Regions from separate parts of the Homo sapiens genome. Here all the other regions are linked to region 4. The links are contacts of gene promoters, found by promoter capture Hi-C in blood cells and fetal thymus (Javierre and others, 2016). All regions are on one chromosome and are shown on one strand. Each heading gives the region's core, a stretch centred on a gene start or on the middle of the fragment in contact. The rest is flanking DNA. Distances are from core to core; before and after follow the strand shown. Region 1 overlaps ETV6 (ETS variant transcription factor 6). Region 2 has its middle 77 kb from the start of BCL2L14. Region 3 has its middle 39 kb from the start of BCL2L14. Region 4 holds the start of CDKN1B (cyclin dependent kinase inhibitor 1B). Region 5 overlaps ETV6 (ETS variant transcription factor 6). Region 6 overlaps ETV6 (ETS variant transcription factor 6).

Region 1 (3,648 bases), core at 1,108-3,607, 860 kb before region 4:
GTTTTCTTTCTGATTTTCTGCCTTTTTAAAACATTTTTGGGGCCGTGCACGGTAGCTTACACCTGTAATCCCAGCACTTTGGGAGGCCTAGGCGAGTGGATCACTTGAGCTCAGGAGTTTGAGACCAACCTGAACAGCATGGTGAAACCCTGTCTCTACTGAAAATACAAAAATCAGCTGGGTGTGTTGGTTCGCACCTGTAGTCCCAGCTACTTGGAGGGCTGAGGTGGGAGGATCACTTGAGCCTGGGAGGTGGAGGTTGTAGTGAGCCGAGATCGTGCCTCTGCACTTCAGCACTGGCAACGGAGCGCAACCCTGTCTCAGAAAAAAAGTATACGATTTTCATAATCAAAAAAGTTTGATTTACAACTTCACATCGCTCTGACCTTTTGAGTTTCAAGTGCTGCATTCTGTGCCCCATGAGCTTGGTGAGGGTAGGAGGTGGCAGGTGCGCTCCAATTGTATCTTTGGCACCGTGCCAGGCACTTAGCTGCTGCTCCGTAGATCGTTGTTGGAAAAACATCTTTCCATTTCTCGATTTCCCTTTCCTTTTTCTTTCCAGGTGATGTGCTCTATGAACTCCTTCAGCATATTCTGAAGCAGAGGAAACCTCGGATTCTTTTTTCACCATTCTTCCACCCTGGAAACTCTATACACACACAGCCGGAGGTCATACTGCATCAGAACCATGAAGAAGGTACTGGAAGAGGTTTCTCTTTTCTTGCCTGAGGTTTAGACAAATCCAGGAAGTTTAATTGTTAACTTGATAAGCTGGTCTTCTTCGTGTAAGTTCACTTTTCATTCAGTAGACAATTATTGAGTGCTTACTATGTACAAAATACACTCTTGGTTCCCTGAAGCTCACGATCAAAGCGAAGCAGTGAGATGGATGTACACAGAAGCACAGAAGCGTAACCATATAGTAGGCACCGTAAAGGTGTGGTGGAAGGGTCCATGACAGCCAGGTGCAGGAAGCAGGGTCTTCTCATAAAGGAAGCAACTCTGGAGTATGCCTTAGAGCAGTGCTCCCCACCCTTTTTGGCACCAGGGACCAGTTTTGTGGAAGACAGTTTTTCCACCAACAGTGGAGGTGAGGGATGGTTTGGGATGATTCAAGTGCATTACATTTATTCTGCACTTCATTTCTATTATTACATTATCATACATAATGAAATAATTATACAATCCACCATAATGTCGAATCAGTGGGAGCCCTGAGCTTGTTTTCCTGCAACTAGACGTTCCCATCTGGGGGTGATGGGAGACAGTGACAGATCATCAGCCATTAGATTCCCGTAAGGAGTGTGCAACTAGATCCCGCGCATGCACAGTTCATGATAGCGTTTGTGCTTCTATGAGAATCTAATGCCGCTGCTGATCTGACAGGACGTGGGACTCAGGCGGTAATACGAGCAGTGGGGAGCAGCTCTAGATACAGATGAAGCTTCACTCACTTGCCCCCACCGCTCACCTCCTGCTGTGCAGCCCAGTTCCTAACAGGCCATGGACTGGTACCAGTCAGTGACCTGGAGGTTGGGGACCCCGCCTTAGAAATCCAGCAGGATTCTGATAAGCAAGGATGAAGTGAAGAACATTCCAGGCAAAGAAAATGACGTAAGGGTGGGGTAAGGCTTTGAAATAGAGAGCAATTAGATGACTTGGATTATAAAGCTTATCTTCTCCCACTCTTTTATTACAGAAAATTTCAAACATACTCCAAATAGAATAAAATAAATAAACCCTTCTGAGCCATCACCCTTGCCTTCACAATGATCAGCATTTTGTCATTGCAGAGCTAGTCCAAGGAGCTTAGCTTGGAACCAGAGTGTGGAGAACTTTGATTTCTGGAATATGGAGGAAAGAAATGGGAAGTCATTGGAGAGTTTTTTAGCAAGGGGTAATAAAAGTTGGAAGAAGGAAAGAAAAAAAAACCCAAATCTATGAACTCAGTGTTGGGCCAGGGCTTTCTGCATAGGGCACCAAAGGAGGCTGGTTAGAGTTCACTCAGTGGCGGTGTTTATTTCAAGTGTCCCAGTTGTTCCTCTTAATCATTGGTAGAAAGCAAAAGACCAGAATTTAATTTAGGCCCTGGACCTAGTTCCAGAATAGGTGTTGGGGCACAGAAATAGAGTATAAAAACCTTACTTGAGGCCAGGCGCGGTGGCTCACGCCTGTAATCCCAGCACTTTGAGAGGCCGAGGCGGGCGGATCACGAGGTCAGGAGATCAAGACCGTCCTGGCTAACATGGTGAAACCCCGTCTCTACTAAAAATACAAAAAAAAAAAAAAAAATTAGCCGGGCATGGTGGCAGGCGCCTGTAGTCCCAGCTACTTGGGAGGCTGAGGCAAGATAATGGAGTGAACCCGGGAGGTGGAGATTGCAGTGAGCTGAGATTGCGCCACTGCACTCCAGCCTGGGCGACAGAGCGAGACTCTGTCTCAAAAACACCAAACCAAAGCGAAAGGAAACCTTACTTGAGCACCATTGCATTAAACAGTTGAACAGCTTGAGCACTCAGTGATGGATCGTGCCTCTGAGGGTCATGATCCTCCTGCTCGGATTGGTCAGACCACAGACGTCCAAACGTGCATCAGTTTCTTCATGTGTACTTTTCCTTAGGTGCAGATTACTAGGGACCTCAAACCCTGGTCCCTTGGGGCATTTCCTTAAAATGATTGCTCATCCCCAAGAGCAGGGCTAACAATTTTGTTTTGTTGTTGGCAAACCAAAAAATGAGAAGTTTCTTGTTTTTCCTAATTAACACTTCACAAAAGAGAGCCTGACTCCAGGCGATGACACCACCTCCTTGTGCCAAGCATTTCACAGCAGGGCCCCTCGCTTCCGTGATGGAGAACGAACAGCATTTCGTGCACGCTCCCTGCCTTCCTCTCATCCTTTCCTCCCCTCACTCTACCCTTGCTAAATTTAGCAGCTGCCCTCCTCCCCCAATTCAGTTATTCATTCTTTTGCTCTTCCTGCCATGTGCATTTCCGGCTTGCATAATAGCCACCAGCCACTCCAGAGAAGAGGAGGTGGGTTTACTGAAGCTTGACATTAAGGCAAGGAATATATTACCTAGCCTGCCTTTCAGATACAAAGGGTATGTGATGGGTTTTCTTTCTGTCTCTTAGTCTTTCTCTCATTATTTTTTTTGTTAATCTCATTTGGAATTTAGCCCCATTTTATTCCTGAGTGTGATTGGAGGCTTATGGTCTCTCCTCCTCACAGATCCTTCCTCTTTTCCCTTTGGCCTGATTTGACTCAGCAGTAGGTGTGTTTGTTGTTCTCATTTGCAGGAGCTCAGCAATAGAGAAAGCTGGCTTACTCTGAGAGCTGCTCGCAAACCAAGTAAATACAGATGTGCCACCGCATACGCTGTAATGAGCTTTCTCTCAAGTATTATGATGTTGGTGGTTGTGAGCTCAGTAGGTAAGAGGATGGAGCTAATGAGGCCGAGGTCAAGGGTGTCATTGCCCTGCAGACCAGTTAGCTCTGCTTCAGACCCAGCTCTTAAAAGTAGTGCATTTTCAGAGACCATTCCTTAAAGCTCATGGCCAGGAAGCAAGGTCTGAGAGCATGTCCGGGCGCATGTGCTCCAGTGAACAGGTGCACACAACAAGGAGAGAAGTGTAGGTCTTTATCCGGTG
Region 2 (3,642 bases), core at 617-3,116, 720 kb before region 4:
AAAGACTTTTGTTTCAGGAATATATCAGTCAGAGTTGTCCAGGAAAACTGAGTGGGCACACACACACACACTCACACACACACACACAGAGAGAGAGAGAGACTTATTATGGGAATTAGCGCACATGATTATGAAACTGAGAAGTCCCACCATCTGCTGTCTGCAAGCTAGAGAAGCAGGAAAGCCAATGGTAATTCAGTCTGAGGCCAGAGGCCTGAGAATGGTGTGGGGACTGCTGGTGTAACTCCTAGAGTCCAAAGGACTGAGAACCAGGAGCTCCAGTGTCCAAAGGCGGGAGAAAACAGATGTCCCAGCTCAAGGAGAGAGAGTGAATTTGCCCTTCCTCTTCCTTTTTGTTTTATTAGAACGCTCAAACAGATGAGATGATGCCTGCCCACACTGATGAAGATTATCTTCTTTACTCAGCCTACTGATTCAAGCACTAATCTCTTTTGGAGACACCCTCCCAGACACACCCAGAAATAATGTGTTGCAAGCTATCTGGGCATCCCTTAGCTCAGTCAAGTTAACACCTAAAATCAGCCCTCACAAGAATCTACCTCTCCTTCTCTCAGTCAAAGCGCTGCATTCTCTGCAATAATCCAATAGCACCCATAATATGCAATAGCACCAATGAGATGAAATGGAACTTTTGCTGGGACTTCTGGAAAAGTGACCTGATATGTTTTCCCCTGAGACTTGAAGGTGAGAAGAGGTGAGCGTGGAGTTGTGCAGCCACCGTGACCCCAAAGGAAGAGACTCTGAGAATAAGGCCAAGATGAAGGTGGCTAGGGTCATGACATACATAGAAAGGGGGCATGATGGCAGCAATGTGAAAACAAGCAGCCCCCCAGGCCCAGAGCATCACATGAATAATAAATTCCCTTTTTGCCTAAGCTATTTGGGGTAGGACTGCTTTTGTCGAGTGCTAAAGAAAGCATCCTGTCTGATAAGACATGATATGGCAAAAAAAAAAACCACAGGTCAGAATGAGACCAGTCACATGTTCTCTGTTTTCCATTTTAAATTTCCAAGCATGTGCTCACTATTCACATGGCCAAGGAAGGTGTCACATTATCACCTGAGGAGGGGCTCCTTCCAGTTTGTTTCAGCCTTCTGTAGGAGACATCTATTTTCAGAACAAGAAATCCTGATGGGAGGCCAATGTATTGCTTACTGTCATTTTAATTTTATTCTTATTAATAGTAATTACGATGCATCTCTCAATATCCAGAGATCATTCAGTTAATCCAACATTGGCAGGAGGTGTGTTCTCCACATTTGTGGAGACAGTTTTGCTATTAGTCATCCACATTCTCATATGGCCCCCATGGTGACAATGGCTTATCCAAATCCTCCCTAGTCCTCCTGTGTGTTTTAATTAAGTTGGCCACTCTACACTAGCCACTTAAGAAAGATAGGGTTATTGGGGACTGTACACAGCAAAGGAAAAGATAGAGAAGCCATCACTCTATTCTCCCACTCTAGGTCCCAATGCAGCGTATTCCTCCAATCTGATATTTCTTGCTCAGGATGAATGAAGCATGAGGATGTTCATTACCTCCCTTAACGTATAACTTGGCAATTGAAAGACAGTCCCCTCTTTTTTTTTTTTTCTTGCCTTTCTTTTATGATGGAAATTGTAAATATCAGGTTAGGTCTCAAATTATCATCCAGCTAAACAAGACATGCACCAAAGCACTCACTCTGAGGAGGACTTACAACTCTCAGGGTGCTCCCACTCATCCAGATGGCTAGGAAACAGCTGATCCCCCTCTCCATGGCCATGAGATCAGAATGGGGACCTGCCCTTCATTGGCTAGTTTCTTTTTAAGATCCAGGCAGAGGAGTTGAGAACTAATTGTTATTGGCTGTGCTAGTGTATTGTCCTGAGATTCCTGTGCCTTCAGAAGAGAATTTTTGGAGGGGCTGAGGTCTTAGAAAGTCAGACAAAATAACTGCTAAATGAACACTGTTGATTTCCAAACCAAATCATACTTAATGACTATGCCTGGCCAGGCACATTGGCTCATACCTGTAATCCCAGTACTTTAGAAGGTCGAGGTGCGAGGATTGCTTGAGGCCAGGAGTTCAAGATTAGCCTGGGCAACCTAGTGAGACCCGTCTCTAATTCCAAATTTTTTTGAAAAAGAAGAAAAAATATCTACACCTGGCTGGGCATGTTGGCTCCTGCCTGTAATCCCAGCACTTTGGGAGGCCGAGGCAGGAGGATCACCTGAGGTCAGGAGTTTAAGACCAGGCTGTCAACATGGTGAAACCCCGTCTCTACTAGAAATAGAAAAATTAGCCAGGTGTTGTGGTGCACGCCTGTAATCCCAGCTACTCGGGAGGCTGAGACATGAGAATCACTTGAACCTGTGAGGCAAAGGTTGCAGTGAGCCGACAGCACCACTGCACTCCAGTCTGGGCAACAGAGGGAGACTGTCGCAAAAGTTACAAAAAAAAAATTATATATATACATACACATATACACCTAACATGATCAACGTGGCTTTTCCTTCACCTTTCTCCAAGGGCAAAAGTTGAGTAACAATAACAATATTCTGTGGGAAATTCCTGGTCTGATACATCCAAATCCTTCCAAATTGGCACTTGTATTCCTTTTCCTTTACTTTCTCAAGGTGAGATAATCACAAACAGGATTTAAAGAAACCTCACACATGCTGGCAAGGTGGAGAGTAAGAATGCACAACGGAGCCAAGGAAAGAGAACAAGGCTCCTTCCCACCTGGCCCCACGCATCTTATCAGCTTTAACTCCAAGAGCCTGTGTTCGCCTCTTCCTCGTGAAGGATGGGGCACCTGACGTCTTGCAGCTGAACTTACGATTACATTGCAGCAGAACACATCAAAAGAACAAATCCAAATAATGACATAAGGGAAAATAATCAAAGAAATTCAAGAAGTAATCCAAGAAATCATAGCCAGGGAGCGTCAGTGCACAGAGAACTCAGAATCCTTTCCAAAATCAAAGAATCATTGTGTCAGTAAAATTCAGAAGAGAAAACACACAAACTGCTTTTCCTCTGCTTTCACGCAACAAACAACACGGACACAAGCTGCATGTCCTTCAATTCAATGCCAATGCTATCTATCTGAAGATAGCATCCCATCCTGTTACCGGAAAGGGGCCCCGATCCAGACCCCAAGAGAGGGTTCTTGGAGCTCGCGCAAGAAAGAATCGAGGCAAATCTAAAAAGTGAAAGCGGCCGGGCGCGGTGGCTCACGCCTGTAATCCCAGCACTTTGGGAGGCCGAGGCGGGCGGATCACAAGGTCAGAAGATCCAGACCATCCTGGCTAACACGGTGAAACCCCATCTCTACTAAAAATACAAAAAATTAGCCGGGCGTGGTGGTGGGTGCCTGTAGTCCCAGCTACTCCGGGCGGCTGAGGCAGGAGAATGGAGTGAACCCGGGAGGCGGAGCTTGCAGTGAGCCGAGATCGCGCCACTGCACTCCAGGCTGGGGACAGAGCGAGACTCCGTCTCAAAAAAAAAAGGTAAAAGAATGAAACAATGGCTACTCCATAGGCAGAGCAGCCCCAAGGGCTGCTGGCTGCCCATTTTTACTGTTAGTTCTTGATGATATGCTAAACACGGGGTGGATTATTCATGCCTCCCCTT
Region 3 (3,453 bases), core at 583-3,082, 690 kb before region 4:
TCATAAAAAAACTAGTTTGGATTATTTCCACATAATGATAGAGGTATGTATAAAATCCTAAGAGAATATAATACAGGAGAAGGCACTCAGCCTGGGGGGTCAGGAAGGCCCACAAGCCTTGGCAGTTACCCGGACTAGCAAAGGTGAGAAGATCATCTCAGGGGAATAGAAAGGTATAAGTTGGCAATAGCATGGTGTGTGCAAGGAACTAGGATCCAAGCATCAAACAGGGTCAAGGAATTAAATATTTGGGAGAGGCAGACAAGCGCAAGTTTATGAAAGACATGCAAAGAAACCTACTTAATCCTGTGGGTGGTGAGAGCCACAGAAGAGCATGATGAAAAGGAGACCCAGGCTCCTCTGTGCTCCAGGTCAGTATCTCTGAAAGCAGTTCCCAAGCTAAATGTCATGATGAAAGCACAAGGAGCCTCAGAGAGCTCAGCCTGCAGAGGAATTCATTCCTCAGGGGCAGTGTGCACTGCTCACTCAACTTTGCTTCTCCAGCACCCACCCAAGTCTGACCCCACTGGAGGCACTAGGTTCATTGTACAGAACTGATATTAATAAACTTCCTTATCCAGAACTTGTGCAATAGCCGAGCATAGTGGCTCAGGCCTGTAATTCCAACACTTTGGGAGGCCACGGCAGGCAGATTGCTTGAGCCCAGGAGTTCGAGACCAGCCTGGGCAACATGGTGAAGGCCCATCTCTACAGAACTACAAAAATTAGCCAGGAGTGGTGGTGCACGCCTGTGGTCCCAGCTACTAAGGAGGCTGAGGTGGGAGGATCTCTTCAGTCTAGGAAGTCGAGGCTGCAGTGAGCCATGATTGCAACACTGCACTCCAGCCTGGGCAAAAGAGTGAGACCCTGTCTCCAATAAAAAAAAAAACAAAACAAAAAAGAGAACCTGTGCATTTTAACATTATCTCCAACTATGGAATTCATTCAATCACCAACTTTTATTAACCATCAAGCAGGGAGGGAAGATATGAACAGAAATACAGTCAGGGCTTTACGACAGGGATACATCTGGGAAATGCATCATTAGGCAGTTTTGTTGTGTGAACATGATAGAGTGCACTCACAGAATCCTAGATGGTACAGCCTACAGCCTACAACACAAACAGGCTACGGTGTATAGCCCATTGCTCCTTGGCTACAAACCTGTACAGCAAGTAACTGTACTGAATATCATAGCCACTTGTAACACAATGGTATTTGGGTATCTAAACAAACCTCACGTGAAAAAGGTACAGTATAAAAGATTAAAAATGGGCTGGGCGTGGTGGCTCATGCCTGTAATCCCAGCACTTTGGGAGGCCAAGGTGGGCGGATCACGAGGTCAGGAGATCGAGACCATCCTGGCTAACACAGTGAAACCCCGTCTCTACTGAAAATACAAAAAATTAGCCGGGCATGGTGGCAGGCGCCTGTAGTCCCAGCTACTCAAGAGGCTAAGGCAGGAGAATGGCATGAACCCGGGAGGCGGAGCTTGCAGTGAGCCAAGACTGGGCCACTGTACTCCAGCCTGGGCGACAGAGCGAGACTCCATCTCAAAAAAAAAAAAAAAAAAAAGATTAAAAATGGTACACCTGTATAGGGCACTTACCAAAATGGCTGTTGCAGAACTCGAAGTTACTCTCGGTGAGTCAGTGAGTGAGTGGTGAGTGAATGTGAAGGACTGGGATATTATTGTCCACTACTGTAGACTTTATAAACACAGTACACTTAGGCTACACTGTTTATTTTTAAAATAAAGTAATTGAGCTACAACATGACAATGGCTACAGCGTCACTAGGTGATAGGAATTTTTCAGCCCCATTATAATCTTATGGGACCACCTTCATACATACAGTCGGTTTTTGACTGAAACATCATTACATTCAGCACGTGAATGTAATTGCGATGAAGTGAAAGATAAAGGTTATAGTTCTAGTGTATCCACAGTGCTTTAGGAGATGAACTGTTAGGGAAAGCCAGAAAAATCTCCACCACGGAAAAAATATTTGGCCTGCGTCTTGAAGGATAAATAGGAAGTCAGTACTCAGACAGGTGCCAGTGTTTTTCAGCCTGAGGCAGGGAGGTATGAGAGACAGCTGGAAGGGTTTGAGAATGGGTGGTGAGAACTTACACTTACTGGGGACTGGATATAAGAATGCAGTAAGACGTGGACCTAGCACCGTGATTTTTCGACCTGGGCTACACATCAGAAACACCTAGCGAGCTTTTAAATCTTCCAGGGCCCAAACCACATTGTGAACCAATTAAATCAGGACGTCTGGGGCTAGAAGCCAGTCATCAGTATCTTTTTTTAAGCTCCCAAAGTGATTCCAATGTGCTGCCAAGTCTCAGAACCACTAGTCTAGAAAGGAGGGATAAGGATTTTCAGCAGCCCCCACAGAACCGGCCCTCCTGGTGACCCTGCAATCCTGGCACACACACCCCACCCCGCCTGGGAGAAAGACCGGCCACACCACAGTCATCGGCTGTTTCCTGCTGCTCCTTTCCTCCCACCAGCATTTTACTCTGAAATAGTGGTTCTCAAAGTGTGGTCTCCAGACTGTAGCATCAGCCTCAGGGGGAAATTCTTAAAAATGCAAATTTCCCAGCCGCACCCTGGACGCATTCACCCAAAAACTCTGGGAGTGGAGCCCAGCAACTGAGCCATGCTAAGGTTGGTGAGCCGCTGCTCTGGAACATTGATCCCTCCCAAACTGCAGCAAAGCAAGCACCTGGGTGTAGCTCTGGCTGTGTAGGTGCTACTACAATCTGCTGGAGTCACTGCTTGTCGGCAGAGATGCCGTGGGAGCTGGCCTGGGTGCCTCCACGTTGGCCGTCACCACCAGGCAGTGGCCTTTGGCCTGGAATCGAAGGTACCAGAGGGCTGATAGCTCAGTTTTTTTATGGCACCAAGAAAAGACTTTCAGATTGGAGGTATGGGATTTTCTTTATTTTTTAATCCTCTTTTAATATAAAGTGGCCCCTTAGCAAACTTTCAAGATATTTCACATCAGAACTGGCCGGGAAATCCGGCATGTGGACAGACACGGATATGCCGTGTGCATTTTTCCGTTGGAGGAAGAGGGTAGGCTTGGGTGCTGGAGGGTGTTGCCTGGGGGCGGAGCGAGAAGGAAGAAAGGGCGCTGCTGGTTCACACCTCACCCATGCCCTCCTCTCAGGCCCCAATCAGGATGGAATTAAAAGACCCTGGGAGGAAAATAAGGAAAGCAACAAAGGAAATGAGTTCCCCATACAGAAAGGGAAATTGCCTTTCCCGTTAAGGTCAGACTGGTCCGAAGTAAAGGACTGGTGCGCCTTAGCAACCGCCTCTGCTGAAGCCCTAACGCTGGAGCTCTTTCGCCCTCGCAGAATAACCGGGACTTTCTTGCAGCCGGAACCAGCCACGTCCTGATTCCACACTCCCTTGAGGAGCCAGCCAGCTCCACATTTAC
Region 4 (3,796 bases), core at 1,297-3,796:
TCTCATTATTTGCTGTACAGATCTCCGGTGCCTTGACTGTAAACAAAACACTTTAGATCATTGTGAGGTCGATGTAAGCACAGCCTTTCTGCTGGCAGCCAGACTTCTTAAGGTGGTGTGACTGTGACTTGCTTACTTTTCGAGATCAACAACAACAAAGCGACAAAATGGTGCTCCTACATATTAGTTGAAAGATTCAGCATGTGAAGGGGATCGAAGTGTTTATTTTCCACTTCCATATAAGACATGAATTCCATGAGTAAAATCAAACTTCTGTGGCAAGGTGAACTACTCTAGAATGTCTCCATTTACATACATGTGGTAGTTTGGGTGTTTATGCATATGGATAGATGCACATATATAGAGTTCCTGTGTTGTCTAGCAATTGTTTTAAAATTTGGACAATTATCTAATTTCTAGGGTAAGGTATAAATTATGGTAGGGAGGCCTACCCTAATTTTCCTGTTCCTTTTCCCCCAGTCTGCAGTCCAATAAATTGACAGCCTTAAAAGTAGAAAAACTAAAGAGGATGAGACCTCTTGCTTGATCCTAGGTGAATTCTTTTCTGTCAGTTAGGTAGGAAGTCCTGACTTGAAAACTAGTTCTGGGCACTGCCCCCTTTACTGTTCTCTGGGTATCAACCCCTGTCCTTCAATTTTAGTTGAACTAGTGGATGGTGATACCACAGGCTCAAGACAGCTGCATTTAAATATCAGTGACCACAGGCCACATCAAGGAAACATCTGCAGGCAACCCAGGGCCTGGGAAGGAGCCATTTTCAGTCACTTGTAAGACAGCAGGACCTGCAGACTACAGCACAATCAAACTCAGACAAAACCCTGAACCAGTGAGAACCATTAGGAAGGAAAGGAACAGAAAATGAACCAACCTGAGTGTTAGGAGACTTGCATCTAGTCCTGACTCCGGTACCAACCGAATGCATGTCCCTGGACAGGAAACCTCTCTGAGTCTCGATTTCCTCCGTGGTAAAAAGGAGAGGGTTAAACCACAGGGTCCCGAGGGTCCCTTCCAGCTGTCACATTCTGGAGCGTATGAGATGAGGTAGGCACACAAAGTGGACAAGATGTGGCTAAGAAAACAAGCTACACATCAAGCTCATCTGTAGCATAGGTGCTTAAGAAAACTTTGCTGCTGTGTAATATTAGAACGGAAGGTTGGTTTCCAGTAAAATGCATTAACTTTGGCTCAAACCAAGATGATGGGTACCGGGCATGGGGGTGGGGAGGCAGTTGAAGATCCACTGAGCTTTGTCTCAGGGCAGCCCTGCTCATCGTCCTACTTTACCTTCCACCACGGTGCTCAAGCCCACACTGAGAGAGAAATTTCCAGCTGCAAAAGGGAGAAGAGAAACGCTGGAATACTAGTATCGGACGTTAGGACATGGTTGTGGTGTTTTAAAAATCATTTCATCATCTGGAGTTTGACCCCGAGGGGAGTATTTTCACCCTTCAGCCCTCTGAAAGCATTCACTAGCATCTGAATATTGTTCTGAGTTTGTTGGAGCAGTGAAATCTGGTGAGAGAGAAGGGTGGAGGAAGGAAGGAGCTGTTGTATTTGGCGGCTGGACTCAGGTAGAGGAAACTGCTACAATCCCGGGAAAGAACAGAAAAGTAGAAAGGGACGAGTTCCCACACGCAGCCAATGTCCATGGCCTTAACTGTGCTTGGGAAGGAAGATCCTGGGCCAGGGGTGTACCCTCGTTTTTCAAAACTAAACGTGTCTGAGACAGCTACAAAGTTTATTAAGGGACTTGAGAGACTAGAGTTTTTTGTTTTTTTTTTTTAATCTTGAGTTCCTTTCTTATTTTCATTGAGGGAGAGCTTGAGTTCATGATAAGTGCCGCGTCTACTCCTGGCTAATTTCTAAAAGAAAGACGTTCGCTTTGGCTTCTTCCCTAGGCCCCCAGCCTCCCCAGGGATGGCAGAAACTTCTGGGTTAAGGCTGAGCGAACCATTGCCCACTGCCTCCACCAGCCCCCAGCAAAGGCACGCCGGCGGGGGGGCGCCCAGCCCCCCCAGCAAACGCTCCGCGGCCTCCCCCGCAGACCACGAGGTGGGGGCCGCTGGGGAGGGCCGAGCTGGGGGCAGCTCGCCACCCCGGCTCCTAGCGAGCTGCCGGCGACCTTCGCGGTCCTCTGGTCCAGGTCCCGGCTTCCCGGGCGAGGAGCGGGAGGGAGGTCGGGGCTTAGGCGCCGCGGCGAACCCGCCAACGCAGCGCCGGGCCCCGAACCTCAGGCCCCGCCCCAGGTTCCCGGCCGTTTGGCTAGTTTGTTTGTCTTAATTTTAATTTCTCCGAGGCCAGCCAGAGCAGGTTTGTTGGCAGCAGTACCCCTCCAGCAGTCACGCGACCAGCCAATCTCCCGGCGGCGCTCGGGGAGGCGGCGCGCTCGGGAACGAGGGGAGGTGGCGGAACCGCGCCGGGGCCACCTTAAGGCCGCGCTCGCCAGCCTCGGCGGGGCGGCTCCCGCCGCCGCAACCAATGGATCTCCTCCTCTGTTTAAATAGACTCGCCGTGTCAATCATTTTCTTCTTCGTCAGCCTCCCTTCCACCGCCATATTGGGCCACTAAAAAAAGGGGGCTCGTCTTTTCGGGGTGTTTTTCTCCCCCTCCCCTGTCCCCGCTTGCTCACGGCTCTGCGACTCCGACGCCGGCAAGGTTTGGAGAGCGGCTGGGTTCGCGGGACCCGCGGGCTTGCACCCGCCCAGACTCGGACGGGCTTTGCCACCCTCTCCGCTTGCCTGGTCCCCTCTCCTCTCCGCCCTCCCGCTCGCCAGTCCATTTGATCAGCGGAGACTCGGCGGCCGGGCCGGGGCTTCCCCGCAGCCCCTGCGCGCTCCTAGAGCTCGGGCCGTGGCTCGTCGGGGTCTGTGTCTTTTGGCTCCGAGGGCAGTCGCTGGGCTTCCGAGAGGGGTTCGGGCTGCGTAGGGGCGCTTTGTTTTGTTCGGTTTTGTTTTTTTGAGAGTGCGAGAGAGGCGGTCGTGCAGACCCGGGAGAAAGATGTCAAACGTGCGAGTGTCTAACGGGAGCCCTAGCCTGGAGCGGATGGACGCCAGGCAGGCGGAGCACCCCAAGCCCTCGGCCTGCAGGAACCTCTTCGGCCCGGTGGACCACGAAGAGTTAACCCGGGACTTGGAGAAGCACTGCAGAGACATGGAAGAGGCGAGCCAGCGCAAGTGGAATTTCGATTTTCAGAATCACAAACCCCTAGAGGGCAAGTACGAGTGGCAAGAGGTGGAGAAGGGCAGCTTGCCCGAGTTCTACTACAGACCCCCGCGGCCCCCCAAAGGTGCCTGCAAGGTGCCGGCGCAGGAGAGCCAGGATGTCAGCGGGAGCCGCCCGGCGGCGCCTTTAATTGGGGCTCCGGCTAACTCTGAGGACACGCATTTGGTGGACCCAAAGACTGATCCGTCGGACAGCCAGACGGGGTTAGCGGAGCAATGCGCAGGAATAAGGAAGCGACCTGCAACCGACGGTAATGACCCTTTCCCAACCATAGAATGTGTTTGGGGCCCCGCTTTGCCTGCTGGAGGGTGTTAACCTTAGCTTGCTTTTCGGCGTATTCTGATTTAGCTTTGGGAGAGCTAACTTTATTGGTCTTAGGTGTTCAGTGCTACCTGGCCCACTGCTTGTCTGTTTGTGACTTTTAAGTCAGAAACTGGAGATGGTAAGATCCGATAATTTCCCTAACTTAATACATCGCGGTCCCTCTCACTAGCAACTCCTAGGTATGTGACAAAGTTGGGATGTTTATCAACGGTCCGCCTCCTGGCTAGGG
Region 5 (3,776 bases), core at 917-3,416, 970 kb before region 4:
GGAATCACAGTTTTACTTTCCGCTTACTATCCATGTTAGAAATATCTAAGGAAATTCAGGAAAAAAAAAAAAGAGAGAATTTCATGGCATGTCAAGAATGGAAAGTATCTTAATTAAAATGTTTTAAAATGGGAACAATAAAGAAGTCGATTTAAGTTTTTTGCTTTGGTGCTTGTCTTTAAAGAAATTGCTCCTAATTCTAGAAACTAGTGCTTTTTCTAATTATATTCAGTAGAACCCTAGGATCCTGTGAGGAGGCATAGGGGAGTAATTGATAAAGAAGGGGACTGTGGTGTCCGTGTTTTATTTGGAGCTGTTCTACCCACACTGTAATTTATAAGCTCTAACTTACCAGGGGAGATAAGATTGTATAGAACCAGCATCTTGCAGTTATACGGAACCTTTAAGTTCTCCTACTCCAGCTCCTTCCCAGTGCAAGCACGTGTTTTAGAGTAACTGTTCAGCCTCAGCATTAAGTCAGCTTTAGGAGAACAGTAAATCGCCCATTTATCTGGAGACTTCAGCTGTTTGAAAGGCCTTCCTTCTAGTGCATCGGTATCTGTTGCTGGCTCTGTCCTCTGCTACTACAAGCAAGCCTTGAGTCTCTCTTAGACTTGTCCTTCCTATATTTGAAGACATCTCCGAGAAGATTTTAAATCTTTTTTCCCCCACAGGCCACATATATCCTTAATGCCTTCATCCATTCCCCTCTTGGGAATGTGCATCTTTGGGCCATTGGAGAGGTCTTGCTTGGACTGCGGCCACTGTGATTTCTGGGGGCAGACTCAGCTCCTTCTTGGTGTAGAGATCTGCCCACTATAGGCACCAAATAGATGTTGGCAGGCTTCTTTCCTCCTTACTGCTTCTATTTATCTCACCTGTACTTTTAGATTTGCTGCTCTTGGGTAAGCAGATAAGAACAAGGGAAATGTCTTCCGTTGTTGTTAAAGACAATGTTAGGATAGAAAGTAATATGTTTGTACTCAAAAATGCCCAGTGAGATTTCTAGCCACGGCCAAGTTATCATTTGCATAAGCAACCTGGAAATGCCCTCTTGGTCCTACTGATTGTGTCCCATGGTTAATGTAGATCCCTGGATAAATTCGAATGGCTACTCCTGCTCAGGGGTCATGCCATGAGAACTTTTCTCATACATCAGATAGAGTCCCCTTCCGTCAGCTGAATGCATTTACCCCTCAGTCTGTGCTACCCATAGGATAAGCAACATGCATAAGAAGGTAGGTGCCTTGGCTTAGGCAGCTCTGTTGAGTCACCCTCAAGAATCCTGCTGGAATTCTGTGAGGAGTGAGGATGCAGAGCAACGAAATATTCGAAGGCTGCTATGATTTTTACAAGCTTGAACCTGTCTCTTGGAATTCCCCATTGTGAAGTCATTGTTGACTGGTTGGCATTATAAAGCAGTTCAGAGAAGTAAAGTTAGATCAGTCTGCACGCAAATACCAGCCACACCATCTCCCAAGCTAGTGACTGGAACTGCGGTTTTCAAGTCAGTTTCCTCATTGCGGAATGGAGATAACGATGCCTTCCTTGCAGGGTCATTGTGAGGCTGAAATAAAATAAAGGCTTCATGGGAACACATACCACATGCTCACTTAATGCTAGCTCTCTTTCCTGATTGTGGCAGTGACTGTATTTTCCAGCTACAATTGTGACACGTGTTCTGAGAGGTGTTAAGTATTTATATACAACTACCCATATGTATTTATGGGTAAAAGGACACGGAACTTTAAATATTGAGACCATCCTGGAAATTCTAGGATGTATGATTGCATAATTTGTAATGCCTGCTATAGGCCTAGCCTCATAGTTGACCCTTGATGGATGCTGAAATATTTCTTAATCATAGGGAGAAAAAAAACTCAATGACCTTTTACAGAGATGTTTGATTGCAGGGCTTATTGCTAATGCTCTCTCTCTCTCTTTTTTTTTTTTTTTTTTTTTTTAATCTCACTATGCAAAGATAATACAGGTCTGGGTAAGAGGAAGACTTAAGATGCTTTGACTTAATTGTATCTGCTTGACAGAAGCAATATACTGCCTTCTGATTTTAGGATGTAACCATCCAGAAAGGCAGAAGAAAGGGACAATTTCAGTTCTAAACAGGAATCCGAATATCTCACGTCCTGAACCATCTACATAAACTAGAGAAAGGGCACTCCTTAAGACTGGTGAAGCGGGCTCCTTGGAAGATCCCCACAGCAACATTGAGTTTGGTTTGTCTGGCGTACCCTCTCCCCAAGGGCTGAGTGGGCCATCTGGGTAACCTAGAGAGGAGACTTCAGATGCTAGGAGTATAGTTCCTACCCATCCTCATTTTCACAGGGTACACTCATTTTTTTCCCCTTGGAAGTACTGATATGTATTCTGCAAGATGAATGTTGAGACCCAAACACCATTTGGCTTGTAAAAATTAATGGCTTAGCATCCAGAGGGATGTTGCTTTCAGGGCAGGGGGGACACTGGACACCAAGAAGAAAGCCAGCTTGGGCCCCTATACCATCTTGGATGTCTAAACCATCTTCTGGTAACTCTCTGGATGAAAAGAAATCATGAACTTCACTTCTGTGATTTGGTGGATGTGGATTTTGCTACATCAAAATTTGCATTTGAGTCTCTGTGGTGTTCTTTCTAGCCGAGATGCTAGGGTATGCTCTTTCTTTCTGGGGAGATTCCAAAAATGTTACTCTCTGTGGCTGTGTGTACAATGTCTATTTAGAAAAGAAGACTGGCATTTGCATCTTCTCTCAAATTCTTTACGTTTGTCTCACTGAATTTTGGAGTGGACAAAATATTCAATAGCTTTTTTCAAGTGAAAAAAATGTCGACTTTCAAGAGTGTATTACTTTAGGTTCTTGTGTATATCTGTGCTTTCCTGGTGGCAGAAACCTAGAAAACTCTAGAGCTCAAATTTCAGCGTATTCAATTTTTTGTTAATGTGTCTATAGCTTGTTAATAAAAGCTTACTTAATGAAAGCCAACATCACCACCACTTGAAATTTTTGCAGCCAGAAGAGTGTACTTAAATACTTGTGTATTCAGACTTCACTTTAATAAATTTCAATAAATAGCTTCCCATAGGAGAGGTTTCTTCTGTTGAATCTGTAGAAGTTGACGACGGTACAAGCATCAGCTTTCTCAGGCAGCTTTTCTAAACACCTGCAGGGTGGAAAAGAGATCCTTCTCTCAAAATACTGAATATTGCTGGCATGACCACTCTTGTCACTGGTGCCTGCTGTTTTCCATCTTATCTGGGTTGCAGGTTTCTTCACAGTGATGGGACACCGAAGTGCAATGGGATGAAAGCATGCCTGTGGCATTTTTACCCTAGCTGTGGGGAAATGACCACTATCCTGTGTCCATGACACTCTTCCTCCTCAGGACTTTCAAACTAGGCTTCAGAAGCCATCACTGGGGGCAGTCCTGGCATTTATAATGGGGATAGGGACAATTTCCAGGAAAAGTTTCTATATCAAGGACATCTCAGTTCTGCAGCAGAGAAATCTTTGAAATTACCTGCAAACCATCTTTTTGCAAGCACAACCAACTTTATTTCTGTTTTAATTAATTCCAAAAATGCTTTATTTCCAGAATGTTAATATTTAGTTAGCAGTAGGCTCTAAGTTTCCCAACCCCTCAGCCTTTTCAGAGGGTATAATAATAAATGTGTAAATGTGCTAGGGGATCCCCGTGATTTATGGAAGCTTTATATTGAATAATTTTGAAGAGGAAAGACCTTTTGGTAATAATATTCATTT
Region 6 (3,960 bases), core at 689-3,188, 990 kb before region 4:
CATAAATCTCATTACTGGGTGTATATCCAAAGGAAACTAGATCATTATACCAAAAAGACATATACACTTGTATGTTTACTGCCACGCTATTCACAGTATCAAAGACATGGAATCAACCTAGGTGCACATCAACAGTGGATTTGATTTTGTTTTAATGTGGTACATATACACCATGGAATACTTTGCAGCCATAAAAAGGAATGAAATCATGTCCTTTATAGCAACATGGGTAACCATGTTGGAAGAGCTGGAAACCATAATTCTAAGTGAATGAATGCAGGAACAGAAAACCAAATGCTGCATGTTCTCACTTATAAGTAGGAGCTATACATCGAGCACTCATGAACATAAACATGGGAACAATAAACACTGTGGACTACTAGAGGGAGGAGCGGGAGGGGGTTAATGAGTCAGAAACTACCTCTTGGGTACTGTGCTCACTACCTGGATGCAAGATACCCATGTAACAAACCTGCACACGTAAACCCTATGTCTAAAGTAAAAGTTGGAAAAGAAAAAATATTTCCTAAATTGTTCTAGAATTAAGCAAGGTAATATTTATAAGACATCCAGCAGAGGGTCTGGCACCCTGGCATATAATAGATGCCTAATGAACATTAGTTTCCTTATTTTTCTTACGAGAGTAAAATATTAAGATGTACATATTCTGTTAGGTCATAGAAAGTTTGAATGGTGGGAAAAGTCAGCTGTTAAAATGCTGTGGGATCTCTTTTTGAGCCTTTTCACCTGTGATCAAAGTTGTCCATCACCCTGGCATTTTTGAGAGCTGTAATTTAAGGAAGAAGGTATCATAGGTTACCTCTGTGGAAATTCTAGAATTTGAATATTATGCCCCTGCTCACTTGTAGACTGGGCTGTCACTATAAAGTTAGGCTGACTTGACTGTATCTGATAATTAGGGGCTGGGAGAGCATGGAAAATTGAAGCCATAGATAATCCCAGTGTCTTGTTTTAGCCAATAATAATTCTTCTCCCACCAAGTCTTTATCAGAACTGCTAACAAGGAGAAAAGTCGACTGGTTTGAGTTTCCTCACCTTTTATTCTCCCCTGGGTATCTTCAGTAGAGGTGCTAATGAACAGTGAAATGGCCAAAAGGTGAGCAGCTCCAGGGAGGAGAAGAAGGAGGCTCAGATAATCCACAAACTGTAATCGCTTTGAATAATTGAGTTAACTCCAGTAAAATGTAGAGATACATTCACCTGCTAGGCATTGTTGGAAGCTAAATTAACACACTGGAAGCAAAGCTTTCTTTTAAGTTTCATTTTTAATCTAATGGTGGACATTTTGGGGCACTGCAGCCTATTAAATCTGCTAACTGATGTTCAGACGTTATGAAGGAGTTAAACTATTCTAAGAATATTCAAGGCCTGTTGTTCTCTCCTAGGCTTTCTACGTCAAAGAGTAAAGTCAGAAAAGCCAAACTGATTTCTCCTAAAATGAAGAGAATTGAAGTTACTCTCCCAAACCCCAGTTGTAGGCCAGGCCCTAAACTGAGAGAAATGGACAACCCAAATATTTTGACCTTTGCCCATTGCCAGGTGAGGCCAGATCCGGGGAGGAAGTGATGTTTTCTTATCTGCCTTAACTTAGCCACTACGTGGAGAAGCACTGTAATGTAATTAATGCAGAGGTGCTCAAATTCTGGTGTTCCTCAGAATCACCTCAGGGGCTTTTAGAAACAGTTGCTGGGCCGTTCTCTCAGAGTTTCTGATTTGGTAGGACTGGGGTGGGACAAAGAATTTGCAAATCTGAGAAGTTCCCGGTTCCAGGGACCGCACTTTAATAACCACAGGTGAAACCAATGAGAAGCTGAGCTCCGAAGTCAGACTACCTGGGCTTGAATCTCAGATCTCTCACTTGGTAGTTGTGTGACTGGGTAGTTGATAGTTTACAGAATCTCTTTGTACCCTCGTTTTCTCATTTGTAAAATGGGAATCCTAATATCTCATAGGATTGTGAGTATTAAATGAATTAATATGTGATAAGCCCTTAGAACATTCCCTGCTCTATGGCAAGTGTGCATTGTAGGTTAGTATGACACGGTTATAGGCTCTCTGTAACAATGAATATAGTGACTGATATTTTTTGAGCACTTACTATAGGCCAGAGATTGACTCAGTACTTTGCAAGGATTATCACATTTAATACCCACAACGCACTCTCCCTCCTTTCCCATGTCCTGCTTGCCTTCTTTCTTCCACTTTCAGTTATTCCTTTTTCCCTTCCATTCTTTCTTGCTCTTCAAAAGCCATATTGTGACAAAATTAATCCATTCTAAATGAAAAAGAAAATGTACCTTAGTTATAAAGTATGACCTTTGTGAGTTTTTTCAGGACTGTTCACCTGTTCTTTGCCTTTTATTCCAGCGTGGTACCCGGCACATAGTAGGAGTTTGGTGAACATTAATTACTTGAATCTCGTTATCCTTAAAAATCAAACAGGGTTTATCTATCAGGGTTCCCTTCTCTTCCTTTGTCCTATCCTGGCCTCTCCTTGACCAACACATTGGTAAATTTGGCCTCTGCTCTTTCTTTTCCCCAACTGCAGGGGCCCACATGTCAAGACAAGGTGGCATCACCAACCATTGAGAAAGCTTTTATTTCACTAGCTTCTACCTGGACCACCCATCAAAAATCTTTAAAACGAGTATTCCTTGGGACAAGGCCAGGTGTCATTGAGAGTCCCCAGGAAGAGCATAGGAGTCCTGGTCTGGGAGGGCCGGACCTACACTCTCGGGGGTGCCCAGAGGAAGAACAGGGCCTTTAAAGTCACCCTATGTTCTCTGACCCGTGCAGTGGTGGCATACTCCCTCCCCCACCCCTGACCTGAGGGTGCTGTGTGTCAGCTCTCCTAACTCTTGGTCTCATTAGGGAAGCTGGTTGTCAAGTACTGCCCAGTTACAGTTGGTTTAAACTCTCAACTAAGGGATCGTAAGCAGGTCAGCTGCCTGAGTCTCCAGTTACTCTTGCAGCTCAGGTTTCCCCTTGACAGGTCCTGATAGGGGCTACTTTTGCACCATTGATGTGGCCAGGGCTTACAGCAAGGTTTAAGGTTTCCATGCGCAGCCTTCTTGGCAGGCAGCTCCCAGAGAAAGGAGTATGGTTTGGGAGAAAGCTGCAAGGCCTGTTCGTGGATCCTTAGTATTTTGAGCCGATCACGTGGAGTGGGCCTGTGCCCATCAGTACCAGGAGACTTTATACTTAGGGGAGAATCTGTATGCGGTGTGATTTTCAAGGGTCTATTTCCTCATTGTTTCTCTTTGCTTGCCCTATGGCTGAGTATTAAATGAACATTGAAAGTCTACTATATGCCGGTTACTCTGCTAGATACTAGCAGAGATGGAGGGTAGGATACAAAGACAAGTAAGGCCTAGTCTTCAGGAAGCCTTTATTTGTGCTCTGTGTATCAGAAGAGGGTTGAGTTGGTGACAAGAATAAAGAGTTGAGGGGAGTGAGGGGCTGAAAAATAATAAGCCTTAGAGAACTAGGAATAAAGTGTTAACTTGGGAAAATTGTTGAAACAGTTCCTTAAGATATTTGTAGTAGATATGTCTCTAGATAAGAGGCTTGTCTGGCTGTGAGGTCCTTGCACGAGACCCTTGCAGGTTTCCCAAATCTATTTGGACTGGGTGTCCTGTATTAACATGAAATCGTAGGCAGACACTGAATAAATCGCAACAGAGTTTCGGTTGTGGCTGCTCCAGTGTCTTGGAGTGGTTGCTCCAGACACATAGGTCTTATCCTCCTGCCCTGAGGTTCTCCAAATTTGCATTTGGGAAGTGTATAGTTTTATGACTGTTTCTTTTATCGTGAACTTACGGCCACCCCACTTCCCTGCCCACTTCCCCATCAGCTTCACCTTGGGTCGCGGCACATCTGTTCTCCAGAACATGTTCCCTGCCAGGAATCTGCAGGGAGCTCTTAAGACTTATCTTTCTT

The links. The method cuts DNA at HindIII sites, captures the fragments that hold promoters and counts their contacts. A CHiCAGO score of 5 or more calls a contact.
Region 1: a contact is called between a fragment that was not itself captured here and the fragment with the promoter of CDKN1B in region 4, in 3 of 17 cell types (M0 macrophages, monocytes and M1 macrophages). The highest score is 6.6, in M0 macrophages.
Region 2: a contact is called between a fragment that was not itself captured here and the fragment with the promoter of CDKN1B in region 4, in 5 of 17 cell types (naive CD8 T cells, total CD8 T cells, non-activated CD4 T cells and 2 more). The highest score is 7.2, in naive CD8 T cells.
Region 3: a fragment that was not itself captured here is called in contact with the fragment with the promoter of CDKN1B in region 4 in 3 of 17 cell types (non-activated CD4 T cells, fetal thymus and M0 macrophages); the score reaches 6.0 in non-activated CD4 T cells.
Region 5: a contact is called between a fragment that was not itself captured here and the fragment with the promoter of CDKN1B in region 4, in 2 of 17 cell types (total B cells and megakaryocytes). The highest score is 6.3, in total B cells.
Region 6: a contact is called between a fragment that was not itself captured here and the fragment with the promoter of CDKN1B in region 4, in 1 of 17 cell types (M0 macrophages). The highest score is 5.4, in M0 macrophages.

What each region holds. Positions count from the first base shown.
Region 1 is chr12:11,852,865-11,856,512 of GRCh38, forward strand. ETV6 (ETS variant transcription factor 6) reads left to right here. Exons shown (of 8, transcript NM_001987.5): 4 at 563-697. Among named protein-coding and RNA genes, the nearest start is that of ETV6, 210 kb to the left of the region's middle. RefSeq lists an enhancer at 2,297-2,873. The HindIII fragment of the contact is 1,377 bases long and covers 1,670-3,046 here.
Region 2 is chr12:11,992,283-11,995,924 of GRCh38, forward strand. No RefSeq gene overlaps it. Among named protein-coding and RNA genes, the nearest start is that of BCL2L14, 77 kb to the right of the region's middle. The HindIII fragment of the contact is 4,872 bases long and covers 1-3,642 here.
Region 3 is chr12:12,029,858-12,033,310 of GRCh38, forward strand. No RefSeq gene overlaps it. Among named protein-coding and RNA genes, the nearest start is that of BCL2L14, 39 kb to the right of the region's middle. RefSeq lists enhancers at 2,447-2,496, 2,947-3,046. The HindIII fragment of the contact is 4,828 bases long and covers 1-3,453 here.
Region 4 is chr12:12,714,822-12,718,617 of GRCh38, forward strand. CDKN1B (cyclin dependent kinase inhibitor 1B) reads left to right here and starts at 2,547. Exons shown (of 3, transcript NM_004064.5): 1 at 2,547-3,493. The coding sequence starts at 3,019. It also overlaps a transcript of GPR19 not described here. RefSeq lists enhancers at 1-4, 125-174, 185-264, 2,521-2,570, 2,651-2,750 and silencers at 1,931-2,500, 2,925-3,113. The HindIII fragment of the contact is 7,251 bases long and covers 1-3,796 here.
Region 5 is chr12:11,744,850-11,748,625 of GRCh38, forward strand. All of the region lies in intron 1 of ETV6 (ETS variant transcription factor 6), which reads left to right. Among named protein-coding and RNA genes, the nearest start is that of ETV6, 97 kb to the left of the region's middle. RefSeq lists an enhancer at 1,163-1,382. The HindIII fragment of the contact is 1,624 bases long and covers 1,355-2,978 here.
Region 6 is chr12:11,721,194-11,725,153 of GRCh38, forward strand. The region is part of intron 1 of ETV6 (ETS variant transcription factor 6); the gene reads left to right. It overlaps LOC124902879 (a long non-coding RNA gene), which reads left to right. Exons shown (of 2, transcript XR_007063212.1): 2 at 1-1,240. Among named protein-coding and RNA genes, the nearest start is that of ETV6, 74 kb to the left of the region's middle. RefSeq lists an enhancer at 3,062-3,281. The HindIII fragment of the contact is 1,349 bases long and covers 1,265-2,613 here.